2 separate regions of the Homo sapiens genome follow, and region 1 is linked to region 2. Evidence: promoter capture Hi-C in 16 types of primary human blood cells and fetal thymus (Javierre and others, 2016). All regions are on one chromosome and are shown on one strand. Each heading gives the region's core, a stretch centred on a gene start or on the middle of the fragment in contact. The rest is flanking DNA. Distances are from core to core; before and after follow the strand shown.

Evidence for each region. Contacts are between HindIII fragments. The CHiCAGO score rates a contact against its expected background, and 5 or more counts as called.
Region 1: a fragment that was not itself captured here is called in contact with the fragment with the promoter of ADAMDEC1 in region 2 in 2 of 17 cell types (total B cells and naive B cells); the score reaches 6.1 in total B cells.

What each region holds. Positions count from the first base shown.
Region 1 is chr8:24,316,490-24,321,229 of GRCh38, reverse strand. It overlaps ADAM28 (ADAM metallopeptidase domain 28), which reads right to left. Exons shown (of 23, transcript NM_014265.6): 7 at 923-994; 8 at 1-12. The region is part of intron 3 of ADAM7-AS1 (ADAM7, ADAMDEC1 and ADAM28 antisense RNA 1); the gene reads left to right. Among named protein-coding and RNA genes, the nearest start is that of ADAM28, 25 kb to the right of the region's middle. The HindIII fragment of the contact is 2,969 bases long and covers 562-3,530 here.
Region 2 is chr8:24,381,458-24,385,938 of GRCh38, reverse strand. It overlaps ADAMDEC1 (ADAM like decysin 1), which reads right to left and starts at 1,654. Exons shown (of 14, transcript NM_014479.3): 1 at 1,347-1,654. The coding sequence starts at 1,434. All of the region lies in intron 3 of ADAM7-AS1 (ADAM7, ADAMDEC1 and ADAM28 antisense RNA 1), which reads left to right. The HindIII fragment of the contact is 13,825 bases long and covers 1-4,481 here.

The DNA of each region.
Region 1 (4,740 bases), core at 797-3,296, 65 kb after region 2:
GTACCTTTTAAACTAAAAGAAAAATTAAGAAAGAATATGGGCATTGATAAAAATGAATATACTTGGAAGGTTAAAAAGGCATCTTCTCTTATATTACTTATTATTGATTTTAATTAAAGATTAGTTATTAGATTTAATTAAAAGTTAGAATCAAATTAATTCCTATTCATCTAGCTACATTAAAGCACTTTGGGAGTGAATATGATGTTTTCTCTTCTGAAGTACTAGCTCAGTATAAAGCTCTAAAGAATTACTCCAAATGTATTTTCACTTAAATTCTATGGTTTTCTAAGGTGTGCAGAATTAACAGAAGGAATATCTTATTAATTTAAGAGACACATACATGAACAGTACATGAATTAAGCACAGTAAGTAAGACCAAAGCTTTAGGGCCTGAGCTAATGGTTGACTTATATTTTCATACACATGTGCATTTTAAATTTTGAAAACACAGTATATGAAAATGCATTCTTACAGTAGAAGATAAACAGTGACTATTACCAAAGATTTGCCTTTTCAGAGGATTCCATTCACTAAGCTTTCATTGTGACCAATTAAGCTTTTGTATTGACTCCCTAATGAGAATAAAGTTTAATTTACAAATGATTTAACAACTTAACAAAAGACAAAATGACAGAAGAATGTAATTGGAAACTAAGTTGGGTACTCTTAAGTCAATAAGAAAATAGTGTTATAAGTGCCAACAATTTATGCATATCATATCAATTGCCCTGATCGCTCTGAAAAGAAGTCATATCAGCTTAATTATAAATGTCAAATTTCATAGTTTTAGAAGAACATGTAACCATAGCTCATATTCATGATTCTTTAAATCTCATCCAGATATTTAATGTCTCACATAATAAATAAATATATGTGGGTGGGAGTTTTGGAAGACAGCACATTTATCTCATATAATTACCTCACCATTATCCAGGACCAAATAATATTCTATGTATTTCTCATGTTCCTGAACCTTCCTGTCTTTCAATTTCTGAAATATAAAGAGTAGAATTACTGATACAATATTGTTTTCTGCAAAAGTTCTTCTATTATTTGACATCTGTAATTTTATAAGCAGTTGGTTGATATCTGGAGTAAAGGCAGACAATATTAGCATTTTAACACCAATTCAACCGACAGGATTATCTACTGACAAGGCTCATAAATTTGGAGGTGAAGGGACACCAGCAATATTCTGGTCTGATTCCTTCCTTTTATCAAGGGGTCTAAATTATGTTACAATAGGGGAGCTAGAAATAAAACCAGTCTTTCTATTGTTTTGAACAGTAGACTTCTTCACCATCCTGACACAAAATAGAGAAAGTTTGACTTCAGCATCCTCCTAGTGTTTTTAGTCAGTTTGTTTTTTTGTTTTCTTTGGTAGCCTTTAATTCATATCCTGGTGAAATACATGCTCCGTTATCAATGGTGCAATGCAGAGACACCATTGTTTCTAGTCTACTTTGTTCTCTTCAGGCAGAGTTGAATCTCCTTCCCATGTTTCAAACTTACCAATGTTCTGTTCCTTTCTCTATCTCAAAAAAAAAAAAAGTTACATAGTGGATTGACTCATTGAAAAGGGACCAACAGATTATTCCTACTAAATAATAGCTCATCAAAGTTTATTAGATTGCATTTCTGGAAGTGCATGTCTTTTAATAGGTAACTAAAGTTCGATTACAAAGAAGAAACTCCTGAAGATAGATTTTTAGGTATTATCTGATGAGACATGTACTTACTTCCTACCCTCCATGGGAACGAAATATTTATTAGCACTTACAATACACTGAGAGTGCTCTGGGAACTGCAAATGCAGTAGTGAAATCACCATGTGAGCTCCATCAGCAGAGAGACCAAGAGACAAACATAAACATATCAGATGGTGGCCAGTACTATGTGAAGGATTAAAGTGGGCATGTGACATTGAGTTACTAGGTAGTTATTTCAGAATAGGTGAAATTCTCTAAAGAGCTGGCCCTCAAGCAGATGTATTAACGAAAATGAGAAGCCAGGCAAGGAAAGAGAAATTGGAAGACAATTCCAGCAGGGAAAAAAAATGAGTAAATAGACTCCAAGGTGAAATAGTATTGGCATATTTAGAGCATAGAAAAAAAGTGCTTGTGTTTTTATAACATAATGGGGGAGGTCACCAAGAGACGGGGAGTAAAGAGTAGGAGGAGACCAGAGAGGTCTATGGGACCACAATCGTATAGGGGTTTGTGACCCATGGTCAGTTGTGTGGCTTTTATACTAAATGCAATGGGAAGACATCGGAGGGCTTTGAGCAGAAAACGGATGTGATGTGATTTACAATAAAAATAGCACTGGATTGATTGTGTGGAGTGTGGATTCTGCTGAACGAGGATGGGCAGGTCAGGCAGAGGCTGTTGCCATGGTTATTATGAGATGGCACCTTGGGGTAGTCAGAAAAGGGAGCAAAGTAAAAGATCTGAAATATGTCGGAGGCACTTGCTGATGGATACCATATAAGGCGGGATGAAGAAAAAGAGAATCAAGGATAATTTCTAGATCCAAATTTGAACAAATGATGAGTGGTGGTAGTGTTAAGTAAAATGGGGAGAATGAGAGAGAAGTAGGTTTTGTTTGTGGTTTAGAAATTGGTAGTTCTTTTGGGGGCATATTTTAGGTTTGTGATATCAGGTGTTTGAGTAGATATATTAAAAAGATAATTATAACAGTCTGGCCTTTAGGAGAGGGGCAGAGGCTAGAGATAAACGTCTGATGGCCATTAGTGCACAGTTCCTATTTAAATAAGGCACAGGGCAGGGTAAGATTACCTAGGAAGAATGTATAGATAAAGATCCAGGATTGAGCTATGTGAGGTTCTCTAATATTTACCAGTCAATCAGAGTAAGGGTGACAGAAATGAAATGAGGAGTAGCACTCCTGAGGTAGAGGAAAGCCAAAACGATAAAATGTCTCAAAAGCAAAGCTCTTTCCACGTAGTTACCAAGGAATGGAAACAGAGGGATAAGAGGCCCTGTACAAGCAAACCCAGGAGTTGATATTCACAGCAACATATAGCTAGGAGTTTCACCAACTTCTGGCCAATCAAAGGTGGCCAACTGTTCAAACCGTGTTCAAGTAAGGCAAACATCAAGCTGTAACCGGTGCAGCTGTTTCTGTACCTTAATCCATTTTTCTGTATGTCATTTTTCTGTCTATAAATCCTCTCCAACCAACGACCAGCATGGAATTGCTCTCAACATCTTCTGGTTCTGAGGGCTGCTGGATTCTCAAACCTTTCTTTGCTCAATTAAACTCTGTTAAATTTGTCTACTTTTTGTCCTTAACAGTCCTCATATTGTACCCTAGATCTTTCAACTGCTTAACCCCGCATATTTGGCTACTTGGTATCCTTAGACCCGAATCTCCCCATTTCCTGTCCCTACCTAGACCCTGGTAACCACTGTTTTATTCTCTACCTCTATATATTTGACACTCACCCTCACCCCCTTTTTTAGATTCCTTTTCATTTTGTTTGTTTGCTTTGCTGTGCAGAAGCTTTTTCGTTTGATATAGTCTCTTACATTTTACTTTTATAACCTTAGCTTTTAGGTATGATATTTAAGAAGTCATTGTCAAGGTTAATGTCAAACAGCTTTTCCCCTCTATTTTCTTTTAGGAGTTTTATGGTTTTAGGTATTACATTTAGGTTTCTTTTTCATTTTGATTTGAATTTTAGTTATGGTATAAGAAAAGGGTTCGATTTCATAATTTTGCATGTGGATATCCAGTTTTCCCAGCACTATTTATTGAAGAGACTATCCTTTCCCCAGTGTGTCTTTTTGGTGCCCTTGTCAAAAATTAATTGAACGTATATGTTTGGATTTATTTCCGAGATTGCTATTCTCATCCACTGGTCTAGGTGTCTGGTTTTATGCCATTATACTCTTTCGATTACTATATCTTTGTAATATAACTTTAAATCAGGTAGTATGATGTCTTTTTTTTTCTCAGAATTCCTTTGACTATTTGGGATATTCTGTGGTTCCATACAAATTTTATGATTTTTTTCTGATTTCTGTAAATACTGTCATTGGGGTTTTTATAAGGACTGCATTGAATCTACTCATTGCTTTAGGTAGTATGAACATTTTAACAACATTCTTCTAATTCATGAGCATGGGATATTCATTTATTTGCATTTTCTTCAATTTCCTTCATTAATGTTTTATTGTCTTCGGTATACAGGTCTTTCACCTCCTTAGTAAAATTTATTCCCAAGTATTATTTATGTTATAAATGGAATGGTGTTCTTGATTTCATTTTTGGCTAGGTTGTTATTCGTGTATAGAAATGTCACAGATTTTGTATGTTGATTTTATATCCTGCAACTTTATTGAACTTATTTGTTAGTGTTAATGGTTTTTCAGTGGAGTCATTAGGGTTTTTTACAGGTAGAATCATTTCATCTGCAAATAGAGGTAATTTTACTTCTTCATTTCCAAGTTGAATGTGTCTTTTCTAAATGCTTTTGATAGTACTTCTGGTACATGTTTAATAGAAGTGGTAAGAGTAGGCATCCTTGCCTGGTACCAGAAGAATGGCTATTTCTGCTTTCCGATTGATTATGATGTTATCAGCGGCTTTCCATAAATGGCTTTTAATTTAAAAAATAAATAAGGAGAAAGAAGAGTGGGCAGGTAAACCTTAATGCTTGGGCTGAGACATATTTTAGAGTTTCACATCATTCCAGCTTCAAATAAAATAATG
Region 2 (4,481 bases), core at 405-2,904:
ATCAAGTTCTATTTCATTACATGTTGTTTGACTTCTCTTTAGGTACAATTAATTCTCATCCGACAGCACAGGCACAGTTGTTCAGTTGGTCAATTAATGTTTTCTTTTGTTTAATAATGCAATTATAATGTATTACATCTGATTTTTGTTTAATAATGCAGTTATATATGATTTAGCCCTCATTCTATTTTAAACTCTTCTCTGTCTTTCATCCTAGCAGAGCTATGATTCGGAAGTTGTCTTAAATACATGGATTTGATTTTTGGCCAGGAAGTTAGTTCTGTGTTGTCATTGGGATGGTGTGTTTTAGAAAAGAAAATAGATCTAGTAGAGTTATTAAATAAGAAATACAGTTCCAGAGACATCCTTACTAAATCATTATGCAAATTACAAAGTGTTGACTATAAGCCTGTCTTTATATGTTTATATGGATCAAATAATTGAATTTGAAGACTTCAGTAAGCTGTGTGTATATATCGCATAATTATTGGTATAATAATTACTCCATTTTATCCTTCTTTTGGGTATAGTATTGGTGATGCACAATGAGGAAATGTAAAAGAATATGAAGGCTAGAGCCAGCCGTATGTGTGCAGCTTTTGCACGGCAACTTTTAGGCAAGTGGGAATTTTGTGGGGAGCTTGGATAACTCCTCAGCTATGTACTTTACCTGTTTCAATATAGGGTTTAGCACAAATGTGTTTATACATGGAAATACGTAGGTTTACAGCTTGGCTTTTAACATGCTTATTATGTGATCACTAGTAAAATAACCAGTGACTTGAAAATTATTTGTAGGGTGTGTATAGTGTGTCATCAAAATGGTTCATCTATCAATAATATCAATAATCAATCTCAAAGACAAAAAGGGTTCCTTTTCCAGAACTAGTCATTTTGACCCTGTCATTCTGCTTTTAAGAATTTTTCTCAAGGAAATATCCCAAAGTGCAGATTTTTTAAACAGCCATGATTCATGAAGATGTTAATAAAATTTTATTTAGTAGAGAAAAGACATAATGAATGGAACAATATGTAGCTTTTTTTTCCTCTATTTTGGAAAATATTGTGCAAACATAAAATTTGTTAAAATATATAACAATTGGAGGAAATAGGACAAATTTTAGAATCCATGTTTCATATAGTGGTTTAAAATATCCTCACTCAAAAAGATACACATACTTATGTATATATAGTTCGCTTTTGCAGAGAGGTAGAAAATCTACCAAAATGCAAATGGTAATGGTCTTTCGACCATAAAAACATATGCCATTTTTTTTCAAAAGGCACTTTAAACATTCATCAAATAATTTGACTTTTATGTAAAATGCTGGTGTGATGGTACGTACCTTGAGTTTGAACAATGAGCCAAAGTACAGGCAGCAGGACCCAAGACATGGTGGCCACTGCAGGTAGCTGGGAGATCCCACGCAGCATGAAGTTGTGGTCTCCCCAGTGTCCAGTTTTATCTTCTCCAATTTCTCTTTAGAAGTTGAACAAGAAAATTAAAACCCCCACTTTTCGTGTGAGATTGGGGAATGTTTCTTAAGAGTGTTGGGAAATTGTCAAAAAATTGCAGTGTCAACATCATGAGAATGTTCCTCATCTTTGAGAGATATTTATGGCTGTGGTTATAGCTCATTGAGGACTCACATCTGGACACTGTTTGCCCCTGGTGCTCCTATAAGCAGTGGGAATGTGTGAACTGAGACTGAGGTGGTCGCGTGCATATCTACATACTCACCAAACTGGACCATTACGATTGTTGTTCAGTATCCTTATAGAAATAAATCCACATATTTAGGACATATATCAGTATTCTGTACATATTTTGAGATACTGTCACAGTGAACACAGAATCTAAAAAGCACCAGGTAAAGTCCTACAAACCAAGATACTGAAAATCTCTCTAACATTCAGTCTCCTAATGAGTCAACAGGGGATGCTGATAATTTTAACTGCCTCAAGATTCTTATAAAATTCATATGCATTTGCACACACACATATGCACATGCATGTAAAATTGTAAAGAAATGTGCATGTATAAGAAATGTACAAGAAATTTAAATAACCTTGACAGTGCTGGCCTTAACCGAACTATACAACATATGAAGTATGTTCGAGGTGTACTTTCTGAGTTCTACCTTATACAATAACAATGTTTCTCTGACAAATATGGTAGATTTTCATGATTATAATATCACAAGTTTATTATGAGAAAAAAGTTGACTGCCAATGATCCGACATCAAGAAATAACTTCTGTTAACGTTTTTACAATTTATTTTCATCTTCTTATGCAGAAAAGGAAAGCTAACCTTATTGGGCAAAGGGTTTAAGAAACTTATTTTTTTTTCCATGGCACTATGACATAAGCATTCTCATGACATTGAATATTAAGACATAATTTTAGTGATTTTAGAATATCATATTTTCTACATATGTGTGTGTTGAGTGTCCATGTAATGTTTGGTTGTGTATATTTCTTTAATTGAATTTCTGGTGACTTCAGGATAAATGTCTAGAAGTGCTATTATTTAGCTAAAAAGGGTAAATCAACTTGAGATTATTGATAAACATTGACTCAGTGCTTTTCAGAAAGTTAGGGCCAAATTAAATCATTATGTATAGTTTTCCCAATCTAAAAACCCATACCTTCTAACTGCTGAACTTAACTTTTCACTGATACATCTGGGAGTTTCCTAACATCTAATTGGAACTTTAAAAATCCCCTCTCTATGTCTATTCTTCACTTTGTTGCTGTTCTACCTTCCTTTAAAATAGTAACATTTTCTCTATAATTTTGCATTTCTTTTTCTGGTCCAGAGATAGGCATCCTTCTTATATCCTTTATGACCCGCCATTAATATTTTAACAAAGTATAATGCTAATTATGTCTCTATCATCAAATAATAAAAGAATCCTGGAATGGTGAACTCTTATCAGTGCCCTACCCTTTAGCACATTACATGTTGTTGTCAAGTATTTTAGTTTATCATGATTTTGACCCCCATGTTACTCATTATTTTTGTGTGTGTTTTCTACAGATGTTTGAAATTATTCATGTGTACCACCTTCTTTGCTCGCAGGTCCTTTTAGCATCAGTTATTTTTTTTTTAATTCTTCATTAAACATATTCTTTTTTATTATTTCTATAGGTTTTTGGGGAACAGGTGGTATTTGGTTACATGAGTAAGTTCTTTAGTGGTGATTTGTGAGATTTTGGTGTACCCGTCACCTGAGCAGTATACACTGAACCCAATTAGTAGTCTTTTATTCCTCACTGGCTTCCCATCCTTTCCCCCTGAGTCCCCAAAGTCCATTGTATCATTCTTATGTCTTCACATCCTCATAGCTTAGCTCCCACTTATAAGTGAGAACATACAGTGTTTAGTTTTCTGTTCCTGAGTTACCTCACTTAGAATAATAGTCTCCAATCCCATCCAGGTTGTTGCAAATGACATTAATTCATTCCTTTTCATGAATGAGTAGTATTCCATCAAATACATGGTGTATATGTGGTGCATATATATGGTATATATGCATGTATGTATGGTATACATCATATATGTGTGTGTGGTATATACATATATACACCAGTTTCTTTATCTACTCTTTGAATGATGGGCATTTGGGCTGGTTCCACGTTTTTGCAATTGTAAATTTTGCTGCTATAAACATGCAATACACAATGAAATACCACCTTACTCACATAAGAATGGCCATTATAAAAAATAAAAAAATCATAGATGATGTTGGTGTGGATGCAGTGAAAGGGAACACTTCTACACTGCTGGCTGGAATGGAAACTAATACAGCCACTATGGAAAACAGTGTGGAGATTCCATAAAGAGCTAAAAGTCTAACTACCACTTGATTCAGCAGTTTCTCTACTGGATGAGATTTGGCTATCTTTTGGTGACCATTATTGCTGTGGACAATTTTGCTTTCTGGCTATTTAGCGGGAACTAATTTGCTTATTAATTATACAACTAGTATTGCTAGGGCAGTTGAATATTTATTGAAATCATATTAAAGTTGTGTTTCTAATAAATTGCTACTACATTTCTAAGGATTCTAAGCTGACTGATACTGTCCTTGCTATTCACATATTCCCACAATAAAGTCTAATAATGGAGACACAACCACAAACAGGTAGTCTGTACAAATATGAAGTATTATGATTGATATTTGTGTATTGTGCTGAAATCAATTTTAGAAAGGCCATATCACTTGATAGGTGGAGAGAATCAGATAATACCTGGAAAAGGAATAGTGGAGCTGGTACTATGAGCAAAACCATGAGTATATAGAAAATCATACTGTTTGTTGAAGTGTATGTTCCTCATGACTTGAACGTAACATAAAGGAACCAACCCAAATGCCCATTAGTGATAGACTGGATAAAGAAAATGTGGCACATATACACCATGGAATACTATGCATCCATAAAAAAGGGTGAGTTCATGTCCTTTGCAGGGACATG